3 separate regions of the Homo sapiens genome follow, and regions 1 and 3 are each linked to region 2. Evidence: promoter capture Hi-C in 16 types of primary human blood cells and fetal thymus (Javierre and others, 2016). All regions are on one chromosome and are shown on one strand. Each heading gives the region's core, a stretch centred on a gene start or on the middle of the fragment in contact. The rest is flanking DNA. Distances are from core to core; before and after follow the strand shown.

Region 1 (4,436 bases), core at 1,662-4,161, about 27 Mb before region 2:
GAGAAAATTAAAGTACAAAAAGGACAAATAACTTGTCTTAAAAAAATAAAAATAAAAATAACTTGCCTAAAGCAAAGCCAGGACCCAAACCGAGCCATCTGGCTCTGAGGCCCAACTCCTTAGCCACTACACCATAGTACACAGGCACAGTAATCAACAATAACATCTGAAGTTTAAAATTCAGTGCCCACCCTACAAAATTTATGTTGTTTATACTGAAACCCATTGCCTAAGGAAAGCTCCCATCTTGCAGATGGCCCTCTGACAGGTGCATCCATTGCTATTCACGCACTGTTCAACTTTCAGATAGTGGGGGACTTCAAGCAAGAAAAGCAGATTTGGGAAGATGAATACTTTGGATGAGGTTTAAAAAAATTCAGGCCAGGACGGGCGTGGTGGCGGACGCCTGTAATCCCAGGACTTTGGGAGGCCGAGGTGGGCAGACCACCTGAGGTCAGGAGTTCAAGACGAGCTTGGGTAACATGGTGAAACCCCGTCTCTACTAAAAACAAAAACTTAGCCGGGCGTGGTGGTGTGCTCCTGTAATCCCAGCTATTCGGGAGGCTGAGGCAGGAGAATCGCTTGAACCCGGGAGGCAGAGGCTGTAGTGAGCCAAGATCGTGCCACTGCACTCCAGCCTGGGCGACAAGAGCGAAACTCCGTCTCAAAAAAAAAAAAAAAAAAATTCAGGCCAAGCTTGGTGGCTCACGCCTGTAATCCCTGCACCTTAAGAAGCTGAGGCTAGTGGATCACCTGAGGTTGGGAGTTCGATACCAGCCTGGCCAACATGGTGAAACCCGTCTCTACTAAAAACACAAAAATTAGCTAGGCGTGGTGACGCGCGCCTATAATCAAGAAGCTGAGGCGGGAGAATCGCTTGAACCCGGTAGGGGCAGGTTGCAGTGAGCCGAGATCGCACCACTGGCACTCTAGCCTGGGCGAGAGAGTGAGACTCCGTCTCAAAAAAAAAAAAAAAGTAAAATACAAATTACAAAATTTCATAACTGTTGGACCTCTTTTCCTTCTGCTAATGGAAGTAAAACCATTATTATATAGCAGCCTAGCCAGACTTTTCTAAAGAGAAGAATGCCTCAATTCGGAAAAGCTTTATAAAAATTGCTTCTACAAAAGTTTAATTAATAGATTTAAATGCTTTGCAATGTTGGCCAAATACGAGGGTAGTTTTAAGCCTATCCACTTCATTTCCGAGTTCAGAGTGAGTCTGCAGTTGTAATTATGTGATTAATCAATTCAAGGCAGAGTTTTGTGATCATTAAAAATGAACCTGTAACTTCACCATAGAATTTAACTTAAGAGAAGTGGAATGGGAAAAAGAGCAAGTCATATTAGAACTCTGCCTGCATGATGAGAAACAGTGGGTAAGGCACGACTTATTATTTCGCAGTAATTCTACATAGGAAATACAGATCTTTCAGAGTTTTGTTTGGTTTTGACATTTGGCACATGTTTTAAAATAAGCACCATTTAAAGTTCCTTAAATAAATCATTTCTTTTTTGGCCTACTGAACTAAAAACATTCCACAATACAATTACAAAAATAACTTTCCGGTTTTCTCAGACAACCAGTTTATAAGAATAATTCAGAAGTTCACAAAGGATAATTTGATTTACATAAAGCTTAAAAAACGGACATAAAAGGTAAGTGAAAATGACCGATTAAGAAGACTGTTAAGGTCCTTTCTAACTACAAATTGTCATGCATTGTAATTAAACACAACTACAATGTTAAACACCTGAAGGAAAAAACCCACATAGAATTAATACTGCCAAAGAAAATTTCCGCTATCTTCAGGCACTTGAGTAAGCTATGTTAAAACGGGAAATGGGCTTTAAATTATCAACATTCACATCGATTACACTATGATGCATGAAAACTCCATTCTACAATGAGTAAACGCCCAAGAAAGGAACCCAACCAACTCCAATTGCCCTGGTGCTCGTAAGAGGTTTATACCGCACAAGGGGTAAAACAACGGTAGAGTCGAGCAAGCCTTTGGGTTACAACAGTCCTTGAACACTTGCAATTGAGAACCCGCAATTCAGGAAGGAAGACACTAAGGAAACTCTGCACTGTCATCCAGGGTGATCTGATTCAGGTTCAAACCAAACGCTCAAGGCGACAAGTTGTAAACAGAAGACACACTTCAGCTCAAACCACCCAGCGAGAGGAAGCAAACGTGCCCATCGCCGATGTCACAGCAAATCCCACCTTGCTGGCGCTCAGTCGGGAACGCTAGAATTCTCGAAGCACAGGGGCCCGCGATTCAGCGGCCCGCTACCACTGGGGCGGGGGAGAGCGGGGCTGGGCGCGCCCGCCCCCGGCCCTGCAGCCCCTCGGCTGGACTCCCCGCGGCGCCGCGAGCTCGGGCCCGAGAGAAAGGGCTGAGCAGAAAGGGCGGCCTCCGCCCAGAGACCGCGCCCGATACCCTCCGCAAGGTCTGGGACGGGGATCCACCGAGGGTCCGGGGACTGGGGAAGGCGTTTTCCAGACCCAGTCAAAGCCCCACCCCGTCAGGGCTTTCCCTCAAGACCGAGTGCGTTCCCCTCACGCGTCACATGTGTAACATGCGTTACACAACCCGTCAGGTAAGGGGCGCAGGGATCCGGGGTCGCCCCTCCTACCCCCGGGCGCCGTCGCTCGCATCTCCCGCGGCCCGGGGAGAGCAGAGGGACGGCCGGCCGGGACATGAGGACTGCAGCAGGGCGCTCACCGGCTCAGGATGGGGCGCTGGCGGGGACCGCGCAGAGCCGCAGCACCCGGCTCAGCACCTGGATCACGGCGGATCCCTCGCCGCCCGCCGCCCGGTGTTTTCATACAAACCCCGGTGGCAGGCGAGGCGGAGGCGGCGGCGGCGGCAGCTGCGGCGGCGGCGCTGGAGGCGGCGGAACCTGTCCGCATCCCGGGCAACGTCAGCGCGGCGCCCCGCCCACCGCACGCCTTGCCAGCCGGCTCCCAGCACGCGCAGGGAGTGGGGGCGGGGCGTGCGAGGCCGCGAAAGGGGCGGGGCGGAGCGCACGCCCTCTTCCCGCCGCGTCCCTTGTTACCTCCGTGCGCGCTGCGCCCCGCCTCTCTGCGCGCCTGACGGGAGGGAGCGCGCGCGTGGGGGCGGAGCGCGCACGGGAGCGGGAATTAGGGGCGGGTGTTCCGCGCGCTGCCGGTCCCTTGTACCCAGCAGCCCCGGCCACCGCCCCTCCGTACCGAACTGCGAGCGACTCCCCACGTTCTTCAAGTCATCTTTCTGTACACTCCCAACGAGGGCCCCAGCCTTTTCCCGGAACTAAGCCCGCGCCCACCCCCTCCCCCGCCATCAATCAGTCACTTTCTTAGGAAGGGTTCTTAAAGCTCCCCACGTGATCCCGGGGTCGCATCAAACGCTGGGGACTGCGGTAAAGCTTAGACCTTTCCTGACCTCAAGGAGGGTCCATAATAAGAGGCTGGAAGGGACATGCTGTTACTACAATCGGGCTCCCAGAAAACAACAGGATTGCACCTTGTGGCCAAATCTCAGTAAATTAGATGCCTAGTGCTGCAGCGAACAAAATAGCATGCTGATTTACTGTTTTTTGAAAAAGTGCCTGCATATAATCAAAACGGTAATGCTAAGTTGGCTACTGAAGGCAAAGGCGGAATGTTTTATCTGAGCCAAAGTAATGTGTCAGAGAAATTACTAATACACCCCCTTCTGTTTTGACTGTACTTCAGTGTACTGCAATGTATTGCAAATAAATACTGACATCATTTACTTTTTCACGTTGCACAAGAACATGTTTGCTACTGTTTATGGTAAGGAATGTAATATCACAACTAGATAAGGGAATGCATTGAGAACTGTGAGATTTTTGTTTTGTTTTATGATCTTGTTCAAATAAAATTAAGCAGGTGTGAAAGCAATTCAAAAAGTAACCCAAGGTACACCACAGTGCTTCTTACAGTTTGCCCTTGGTAGATGTCTTTATTCAGATGAACAAGAAACTGCCATTTTATAAACATCGTAGTTTCCCTCATCGTGAGCACTAAAAGATAGGTTACGGTATTTAAAATAATTTTGAAACAACCACCACCCCAAACCACCCAATCAGAAACGTATTATCTGAAAATACCCAATAATAATGTAATAATTTTACAATAATGCTAAATATGTATGTAATATACCTGAAACTTTTCTTAAAGAACATGTTTCTAAATGAGTCAACCTGCAATATAGGAAGATATTATGTGGATGTGTGTGTTTGTGGAATTTGAATCCCACTTTCACAAGCACTGTTAGCATAGTTTGATGACCACAACACAGACCCAGGAGATTAACCCACACAAGATAAATAGCAGCATTACATAGCTTTGAAATGATTCCAATCACATAGTTTGCCACAAGAGTGAGTGATTTATGTTTTGCGGTAATTAAGAACTTAGAGCT
Region 2 (4,584 bases), core at 691-3,190:
TATATGGCTATAAAAGAGGAAGTGAAAAGTAGCTGCAGTATTCACTGTCATATGTTCTACTTCCTTAGAGAAAACCAAAAAAGGAATAGCTAAATCAGAGAATTGTGGTGAAACTTTCTGTATTCTCAGTGTTAAATTTGATTTGGTTTTCCTGATAACTGTGGGGAACAAAAATAAACTATAACTTTCCTCAGTATGTCTTTTACCATCAAATTAGCTGTTGTCTATGTCTAGGAGCACAGTCACATGCCTAGAATTCAAGTGTCTCAGATCCTTGAGAAGCCTGCTCAGGAAAAAAGAATAGTTGAGCCACCAAGAATTTATCTCTGGCCAGGAATCTGGAAAAGAGCACATGGCTGTCATTACCTATCCCATAATTTTCAGTCAGCTTGGACTGATTGTTGCATGAAAATTGGGAGCCCTAACATTACAGACTTCTCCCAAATACTTTCACATAGTGAAGAATGCGAATTTAAAGTGGAATAGGGAAAAAAGGAACAAAAGCACAGCTTAACTGTAAAATAACTGAGAAACGGAAAGAACTCAAAGTGGAACTAAGTGAATGCAGGCCATCTAAAGACGGGGTAGGAAGGGAACAGAGTGGTGAGAGTGAAAAAGACTAAAAGGTAGGTAATATAGAGCTAGTCAGTGTAAATCAAAAATTCCTACTTAAGGACAAAAGAAGGCCAGTGTCATTTTATGGTCATTCATCTATTAACTCATTTGTTTATGTATTGTCTATGACTACTCTCACCCTACAAGGCAGAACTGAGTATTTGTGGTTGCAATAGAAACCACATGGCCCAACAGATCTGGAAGCAACTTAAGGGCAGGCACAGCAGTTTAATCATTTTTGTAACCTCTTAGCATTTAGCAGAATAAGGGGCATATGTGGTGCATTTGTCATTTTTCCAGTACATTCTTCAGCACGCACAAAATTTGTTAAGCATATGTTCAAAGAAAAGCTCTGCAATGATCAGAGCTTGGTAGCTCACAAGTTTGGAGGAAGTCAAGCTGTCCACTGGCACAACACAATGGAAAAGGCTAAACTGACTACTAAAAGAGACAAAACCCTTCCTCTCTTTAAAGATTTCTATTCCAGGCTGGTATATATTAATATAATGCTTGGGGAAACTGGAGAATGACAGAAGTCTGTTACGTTGGTTTTAAGCTTTAAGCTTTACAAAGTGCAATTTCGCAGCTATTATTCATTCAACAGCCACTTCCTGAGCACTCACTATGTGCTAGGTACCATGCTGCATGCTAGACAGAAATGAACACCATAAGCAGTCCCTGTCCGGTGAGGACTCATAATCTAATAGGTGCGGGGTATAAGAATAGAGGCAAACACACCTAGCTGCAGGAATAAGGAAGAGAAAGCAATTCATTCTGCCTGAGGTTGCAGAAGGAAAAGCATCCAAAACGTGACATCCGAGCTGGGCCTTGAAGAATGCTAGAGCTGACCCACCAAGGCCTGGTTCTAAAGTGTCTTCGCCTTCTCCATGGAGAAAAGAAGTCTCACATCAGCCCCAGCTGACTCCTATAAAAATTCTGAGGCAGGAAGTCTCATCAGCAATCATTCCCATTTCACCGGAGAAATTGTGACCCAGAATGCAAAAGGCAAACCCAGGGCTATCTTCCCGCCAAGAGAGATGCCGGGTCCCGAACCTCAGATCGGCAGGGTCAGCACAGTTGCAAGTTCTGCCCAGATTCTGAGAGGTGTAGAGCACCGGAATGTGGCAAGGGTCTCCCCCCGGAAGTTGGGAAAAGGCCTGAGAAGAGATCGACCCCCCTCCAACAATCCGCCGGTATCTCTCAGCCACGCCCTCCAGCGCATACTTCTCAGTCACTCACCCGCCGCTCGGCGAGAGGAAATCGGTGTCGTCCTCGTCCCCCGCACCGAACATTGCGTTGGCTTTCACCGGGTTGCGGGGAGGAAGCTGGGTATTCCCAGAGTCCCAGGGCCTGTCACCGCCGACGTCGTAAAATGCCGCGGCGGCGTGCTGCTTTCCGGCAGGGCGAACTCCAGCACGGTCTCTGGACCGAAAGTAGACTGGGCTCTGGAGAAGGTGGGGCAAAGGCAAATGAGAGGCTCGCGCGGGCACGAGCGCCGAGTGACGTCAGGCCTCTCCAGCCCGCAGCGGGGCGGAGCTTCACAGCCCCTTGCAGGGATTGGTCGGTAATGCTAGGGGGCGGGAGGGGGCGGGAAATCCTCGGCCTCGGTGGCGGTGGTGGACACGTCGAGCCGGGTAGAAGTGGAGGGGCCGTTCGAAGAGTCGTGAGGGGGTGACGGGTTAAGATTCGGAGAGAGAGGTGCTAGTGGCTGGACTTGACCTGGAAAGGTAAGGCTTCTCTCGGCCCCTCTTTCGCACCCCTGTGCATGGGTACCGTCCTTTTCCCAGCGGGACAAGGACCTTCCTCGCCGCTTTCCTCAGCTCCGCGGAAGGAGAAAGAGCTCGGGACTGGAGGGTTAAAGACTGGGGCTTCGGCCCGGCCCCTGCAGTGGCATAGCCAGAGTGACCTTGGGCCGGGGTGCTCGGTGCCTCAGTTTCCCCGTGTATGCAACCGGCCATTTGTCCAGTTCTTCCATGTGCCTGCTGGTCCAGAAGATTTTAGAGCTCAGAGGCCATGGATTTCAATCCCGGCCTCCTCGTAATCTCAGAATTTACAGATAGGGAGACGAAGGAACTAAGCACCCGGGTGACTAGTCCGAGGTCACAAAGAGTAAAGGGCAGACTGAGACTGGATTCCTCGTCCTTTGATTCAGGACATAGTGAGCTAGTGGGTGAACAAGAACCTTATCAGCCCTTAAGCACTGTGTGCCCTTACAGAGTGACTATTGAAAGACTGTAGCATACACCTCGAGGAAAGTCCCCTTTCTAGAGTCCACCTGTATTCTACGCGGATGAGGTGCAGAAGAGCTAAGATATTCTGGCGGTGGGTGATGGAAAGGAGGATACTTTGGAGGCAGACACATCCCCACCCCAACTTTGGCGTGGGTTTCCCTGGGTCTTCCTGCGACAGCCCTAAATCAACATCAATTGTGGCGGACTCCTCTGCCTCCAGTTTCCACCCTATCTGTATCTTACATAAGTATTTCTTTGGTTAACCTGGTATCATTCTCGAAACAATCCTGGGGTAGTCCTGGCTTAGACAAGGTGTGGCTAAGGAGATAGTGTCCCAGCGTAGCGTCCACAGACTCACTGGAGTTCTTGGGCTTCCCCTCACAGTCAGGTTGGTACTACAGGTGTCCCTTACGTGAATGTTTCAATCTGTCAGTATGAAATTGAAATGAAATGATTGGTAGCTCCCTCCCAGAGAACTTTGCACCTCCTGGCAAAGATGTTAAAGCAGCGAAGGCTCACAGTTGGAATGATGCAACTGGAATCTAAGCACTAGAACCGGAACTGGAACTAGAATCTAAGGACTAGCACTAGAACTGTTGCAGTAGCTCTGTTTAGTGTGTGAACTTGGCTACCTCTTGGAGGTGTTGGGGGAGTAACTGGATTAAGTACCATGGCACTTTCTAATCCCTCTCCCCAACACCGGTCACTGTGATTGCAGCACTGAAACATCTAAATGTTTAACAGAAAGAGCTTGCTAGCCCCTGGCTTACATTATCTATGGTATTTTTAACATGGAATGAATACTTAAAGTCACTTGCAAAGCAGTCTCACTGCAGAATCTTTCTAGGTGTTTATGACATGTCCTTCCAGCCTTTTCTTTAAAAAAAAAAAATGGCCAAGGGAATATTTGAACTCTTATCTTGTATTCTTGGGTGGAGCTGATTTTATCCTGGATGTTTAAGTAGCTTTTGTAGGTACTCAGGAATCCTAAAATCAATAGCCTTTTTGGTGATTGGAACATCACGAACATGCATACGCAGATTATCACTGTAGAAACACAGCTGCTGATTCTCATTAGCAGTATGAGGAGGAGGAAGATGATGGTGAGTCTTGCCAGGCTTTGAACTGCAGGACTGGGTGCACCTAAAAAAAAAAAAAAAGAAAGCCACTGTCTTCCTAAATTCGTGTATCTTCAGATTGGTAATACTGGACTAGGAATCAGGAAATCTGAATTCCTGTCCCAGCCCTTATAACTCACTCTGAGTTTGGGCCAGGCTCCCTAAGCACTGTAAAATGAGTGGATTAGACCTGGACTTCTACTGAGTAACTGCTGGGGATACAAAGGTAAGTAAGGCACAACCTTGATCTCAAGTTTAAAGTAAGCATTTTTGTTTATTTGTTTTGCTTAAGTATACAACTTTTAGAATACTCATAAAATATATTGTCAACCCCCAGAAGATTGGCCAGGAAGCAGCAATTTTTTTTCTCCACCCTCCACTCCCCTTACTCCCTCAGGGAAGCAGCAATTTTAATAATTATTTTCAAATTATCAGCAATTTTGCAACAGAGATGACAGTCTTTATATACGAGTATACCCATACTAATCTGTAATGATGCATGCATTTTAAAATTAGTAGTTTAAAGTTATAACCAAGTTATATCAGGCATAATGATAGGAATATGAATTAAATGCAGGTTCTAGGGGATCTATAACATTCCGTTCACTCAGTCACTGAAA
Region 3 (4,862 bases), core at 1,030-3,529, about 27 Mb before region 2:
TCCCTTTTGAAAAACAAAGATCTCAGATTATCCATCTCGGGACACTGACACTACATCCAAAAGATATATCTCTTGTGGCAGGAGATATACGCAGTGTATACTGTGTTTTTACATCAACAAATAAGTTTTTTTTTTAAAAAAAGCTTTATATTCTGTCATTTATATTATGAACACATTAATTATTCAAATACAAAATTATAATCACAATTTTGAAAACACACAAACCACTGAGCAATTACGATATGGTCCCCTGGAGCATATAGCTACCCTCTTCTGTAAAAAACACGTTACAGAAAACATGTTTACTGACGTAAAGTGAGCCCTGGGGCAAAGTAAACTTTTAAAGGGATCAACATATGAAATGTGTTTTAGCTGCTCAAATATCATGATTACTATCCTTAAAATAATCACACTAAGTGACCATTTCTTAAAACAGAAACTGTGAAAAACTGAAACTAAATTGCTGAAAATAACAAAACTCATTTGGATGAAAAAGAATAAAACATTGCTGACTCTGGGGTTGTGATCTGACAAGTTGGAAAACATTACCAGGACTTCCTGCTTCCATTTCTGACGTGGTTTCTAGGCTTGTTAGGTCTTTATGAAACAGTCGTCTTACAGTTCTGCAGCCTCTTGTGTCTTGCCACCTATAACCATCTTCATTTTCTTGAAAGGAGTCTTTTCTTTGTCGGTTTATAACAGGAATTCTAGGTCCAGGTTTGAATTCTCTCCAGTTGTCTGAATTACCAGTATGTTCATCAGACAGCCATCTCTTACTCTGATCTTTGTGGCTGTCATTCATCCAAGCGGGTTGACTGTAGATTGGGTTTTTAAATGCATATGGATTGCTGGAAACAGCACATGGTCCTTTTCTGGGGGTATTCCCATAGTTCCCTGGTGTTATCTTCTTTTTTTGAAGGCCCTTTTCCATTTTACTGCCATGGCCTTTAGCATGGTCATCTATTATTAAATAATCTTGTTGGGGGTGACCCCTTCTGAAGTCATCATCATCCATAGTCCCCCGGTCTTTAGTGCGCTTCACGAAATAAGGTTTTGCTGTATCTCCCATGGTCTTTGACTTCAATTTTCTTACTTTGCACCTGAAAGAAGGTATTTTGGGGAAATATCAAACTATATAACAAGATATCATACAAGTATACAAAATAACAATTTATCGTACAGATGCCCCAAAGCCTGTAAGAAAGAAACTCCCTATTTTTTTAAAATAAAAATTCTATCACATTCTTAATAATCAGTGCTTTACCCTAGAGGTTGGGAGGCTTGGTCCTCTAATATTCTTCATGAAAATTAATACTTACTATTTAGCATGAAGATTAAATGTGTGAATAAGAGAAGCTCTATAGGTTCCAGAACTGTAGCATAGTAGAATATTACTCATATCAAGTATGGTCGGCTTTTCCCTCTGTAACAAGGCGTTTCTCTTCAAAGAAAACCTCATCCCAAGCCAATATTATTACTAAACTACCGAAACAGTCTTTTGTTTTTTAAGTTGGCAATTACTTGTAAGTGTTATACACCGAAACTTTACGTGAAAGGAGTACTACATTTCTCAACTCCAATTTTCCGTCCCTTCACCACCCCTATTCTGGACAGACCGGCTTTGAGCGCTTAGGTTACGGAGGGGCTGGGCTTCCGACCAAGGTGCAGCTGTAATTAAAGAGGCTGGGTTTCCGATCAAGGGACAACTCCATCTAACCTCCTCAATCCCCGTTCTCCAACCCCAAACAAGTTTGGTTTTGTCAGGAACAGCAATTCCCTGAGGAATGACACTCCTCTTCAATCCCCATCTGACCGCTCCACCACCGATCTGCCTTAGTTTCCACCCTTTTGAGCCCGACGTGGAGAAAGAGGAGGCGTCCCTGCACTCCTGGCCAAGAAGCCACCGTGGGGACCAGGAAGCAGGAAGTGACCTGCTGTCTCCATGGGGTTCCAGGGTTCCCCCGGCCGGCCAGGGGGCCAGAGCCGAATGTCTTGACCCAAATCCCGTCTTCTGCGCCCGCAGTCTGACAAAAAGTGAAAACACGGACTCGAACCCGAGGGCTCAGCCTCTGCCGGCCTGGGGGTTCCTCGGTCACCCAAACTGGTGCGAGGAGGCCGGCGGGGGATGGAACCAACGTACCTCCGGGGCCAGGCCGGACAGCTACTCTGGAGTCCAGGAAACCAACTGGAGAATCAGCCCGGAGGCGAGTCTGGCAGGGACGTTGGGAGAAGGCGCCCAAGAGCACTCACCACCTTCGCCGCGGTCCCCAGCCTCTTCCTGTCCCGGCCGGGCTCCCTCTCCGTGTTTTCCTTCGGCCCCACTTCCGGCGCTCAGCGCTGTCTCATTGTGCGCGATTGGGAGCCGACTGTGCCCCCGCCCTAGCGCTCCGCCGCGCACACCGGAAACGAGCGACGCGCCCCGCCCCGCGGTGCCCCGCCCACGCTCCGACCCCGCCTCCCGCGCCTTTGCCAGCCTGGCCTCTCCTGTCCGGCGCCCCAGCGCACTCGCTCCAGGTGTCGGGCGCCGGGTCTGGCCACCGGGCGCAACCGTCGGAGCGGGCTAATTACTGGCTCGCCGGATAGCCGGTTCGCCGGCGCTTGGGGGCCAGGCCCGAACTTCTTACCAGAGCGGCGCCCGCCCCTTTTCTCTCCCGGCTTCGACGCTCCTCTGGTTCCCCTCTCTGCTCGGGAGGCTAAGTGCTCGGGAGAGGCGCGGGAGCCAAGACTTATGCACCCGGAGAGGGACGCGGAGCCAGCGGTCGGGCAAAGCCGCATTCCCCGCGCTTGGGGCCTCGGCTTTGCCCCTGGGTGCTCCCCGGTTACTTCCAGGGGGAGTAAAGGCTCCGAGGCCTCGTAGCGCTCTTGGTGTTTTTCTGATAATTCGTAGTGATTAATGTTTTCGTGAATTCTTAATTGCCGACCTTGTAGAAATGCCAGCATTTAAACATCCACTGCTCACCCAGATCTCAAAGTGGTCAAGGAAAATGCTCTGCTTTTTTCTTAGGTTGTGTAAGGATTACTTTTACTTGGAAAAAAAAAAAATCAGTTCATTTCGAAGAATATGTGTAATGGCAAGGGATGACCAGAGAGCGTTACATTCGAATTTTTGAGTTGAAGAGTGCACACCTCGAACTCGGGGTTGCTTTTTCTTTCTTTACTGTATGACCTTCCTTGCTGTTTACAGTGTTCTAAATGCTTTGAAAAACATCAAGCAACTAGTGAAATTAGGGAGCGTTGGGAAAATCGACAGTTTTCATTTCTCTGCTTTTTTAAAGCATGTAAATTGAAAGCTGTCAGGTCCTGTGGAGCAATGGTCTTAAAATAATAACACACAAAGTTCTGGCTATGCCAATAACTGTTTTGAAGGCTTTACAAATATTAACTCCTTTGTTTTATATTTTTGTAGAGACAGGGGTCTCCTATGTTGCCCAGGCTGCTCTCCAATTCCTGACCTCAAGCCATCCGCCCAACTTGGCCTCCCAAAGTGTTGGGATTACAGGGGTGGTCCACCATACCCAGCCTTAACTTCTTTAATCCTCACAGCTTCATGAAGACTATATCATTATCCCACTTTTAAAGATGAGGACATTTAGCACTTGCAGTGAAGTAAATGGCACTGCTGCAATCCAGACCCTGAATATGAGGCTGTTATTAACCATGTGGCTATACTAAAAGTGATATAAAACACATTCCTACAACTTTTATATAATTCCTTACTTAGATATTTTGATTGTGAAAATACGTGAGGATCAAACTGATAGTCTCTTCAACAGGCAGACAGTGGCCTTGAAAATATAGTCCAAAAGGGAGTGTGGAGATGCATGATTACATTAATTCTGAGACAGCAGCGTCACCACGCCCCACCCAAACCAGTAATTCCTGTGCAAAAGAACTGGTTTAGAAATCTGCCTCCACCTAGAGTTCTAGAGTAGCAGCAGAGGATACATACTTTTAAGGATTTTTTTTTTTTTTTTGAGATGGAGTGCCACTCTGTTGCCCAGGCTGGAGTGCAGTGGCATGATCTCCGCTGGCTGCAACCTTTGCCTCCACCTAGAGTTCTAGAGCAGCAGCAGAGGATACATCTTTCTAAGGATTTAATTTTTTTTTTTTGAGACAGAGTCTTACTGTGTTGCCCAGGCTGGAGTGTAGTGGTGCGATCTTGGCTTACTGCATCCTCTGCCTCCCAGGTTCAAGTGATTCTCCTGCCCCAGCCTCCCAAGTAGCTGGGATTGCAGACAGGCACCACTATGCCTGGTTAAGTTTTGTATTTTTAGTAGAGACGGGGTTTCACCATGTTGGCCAGGCTGGTCTGGAACTCCTGACCTCAAGTGATCCACCGGCCTTGGCCTCCCAAAGTGCTAGGATTACAGGCGTAAGCCACCAGGCCTGGCCCGATTTAAAATACTTTTGCCAGGCACTTTGGCTCCTGCTTGTAGTCCCAGCAACCCTGGAGACTGAGGTAGGAGGATACCTTAAGCCCAGGAGTTGGAGGCTGCAGTGAGCTATGATGGTGCCACCACACTCCAGCCTAGGCAACAGGGCAATACCCTGTCTCTCTCAAAAATAAATTTAAAAAATAAAACGTTTTGAATTTGCGTTTTCTTCAACGTCTTTCCCAAAGCCCAACTTCTTTTATTCTAATGGTTGCTTTTAAGATTCATTTTGAGGACAAATCAGGCTCTCTCAAATAAGATGCAGTACTAATCAAAATATATTGACAGCAGAATATACCTTTTTCTGTCCATATTATGCTGTAATGGATATTTAAATTGGTCCTAGGAATTCTTACAATCTGGTTGGAAATTTTGATTTGAGTTTTCTTTGGATGTCACTGGAAGGATTAATGAGTTTCTCAGAATCTT

What was found. Contacts are between HindIII fragments. The CHiCAGO score rates a contact against its expected background, and 5 or more counts as called.
Region 1: the fragment with the promoter of AGTPBP1 here is called in contact with the fragment with the promoter of FKBP15 in region 2 in 1 of 17 cell types (non-activated CD4 T cells); the score reaches 12.9 in non-activated CD4 T cells.
Region 3: the fragment with the promoter of TUT7 here is called in contact with the fragment with the promoter of FKBP15 in region 2 in 1 of 17 cell types (non-activated CD4 T cells); the score reaches 5.0 in non-activated CD4 T cells.

Annotation. Positions count from the first base shown.
Region 1 is chr9:85,739,043-85,743,478 of GRCh38, forward strand. It overlaps AGTPBP1 (ATP/GTP binding carboxypeptidase 1), which reads right to left and starts at 2,912. Exons shown (of 26, transcript NM_001330701.2): 1 at 2,733-2,912. RefSeq lists an enhancer at 1,926-2,075 and silencers at 2,246-2,565, 2,636-3,235. The HindIII fragment of the contact is 1,776 bases long and covers 1,637-3,412 here.
Region 2 is chr9:113,219,337-113,223,920 of GRCh38, forward strand. FKBP15 (FKBP prolyl isomerase family member 15) reads right to left here and starts at 1,941. Exons shown (of 28, transcript NM_015258.2): 1 at 1,855-1,941. The coding sequence starts at 1,907. SLC31A1 (solute carrier family 31 member 1) reads left to right here and starts at 2,208. Exons shown (of 5, transcript NM_001859.4): 1 at 2,208-2,342. RefSeq lists enhancers at 1,740-1,869, 1,980-2,089, 2,930-3,119. The HindIII fragment of the contact is 3,588 bases long and covers 1,177-4,584 here.
Region 3 is chr9:86,352,131-86,356,992 of GRCh38, forward strand. It overlaps TUT7 (terminal uridylyl transferase 7), which reads right to left and starts at 2,280. Exons shown (of 27, transcript NM_024617.4): 1 at 2,141-2,280; 2 at 550-1,100. The coding sequence starts at 1,069. RefSeq lists an enhancer at 2,129-2,338 and a silencer at 2,359-2,538. The HindIII fragment of the contact is 6,298 bases long and covers 142-4,862 here.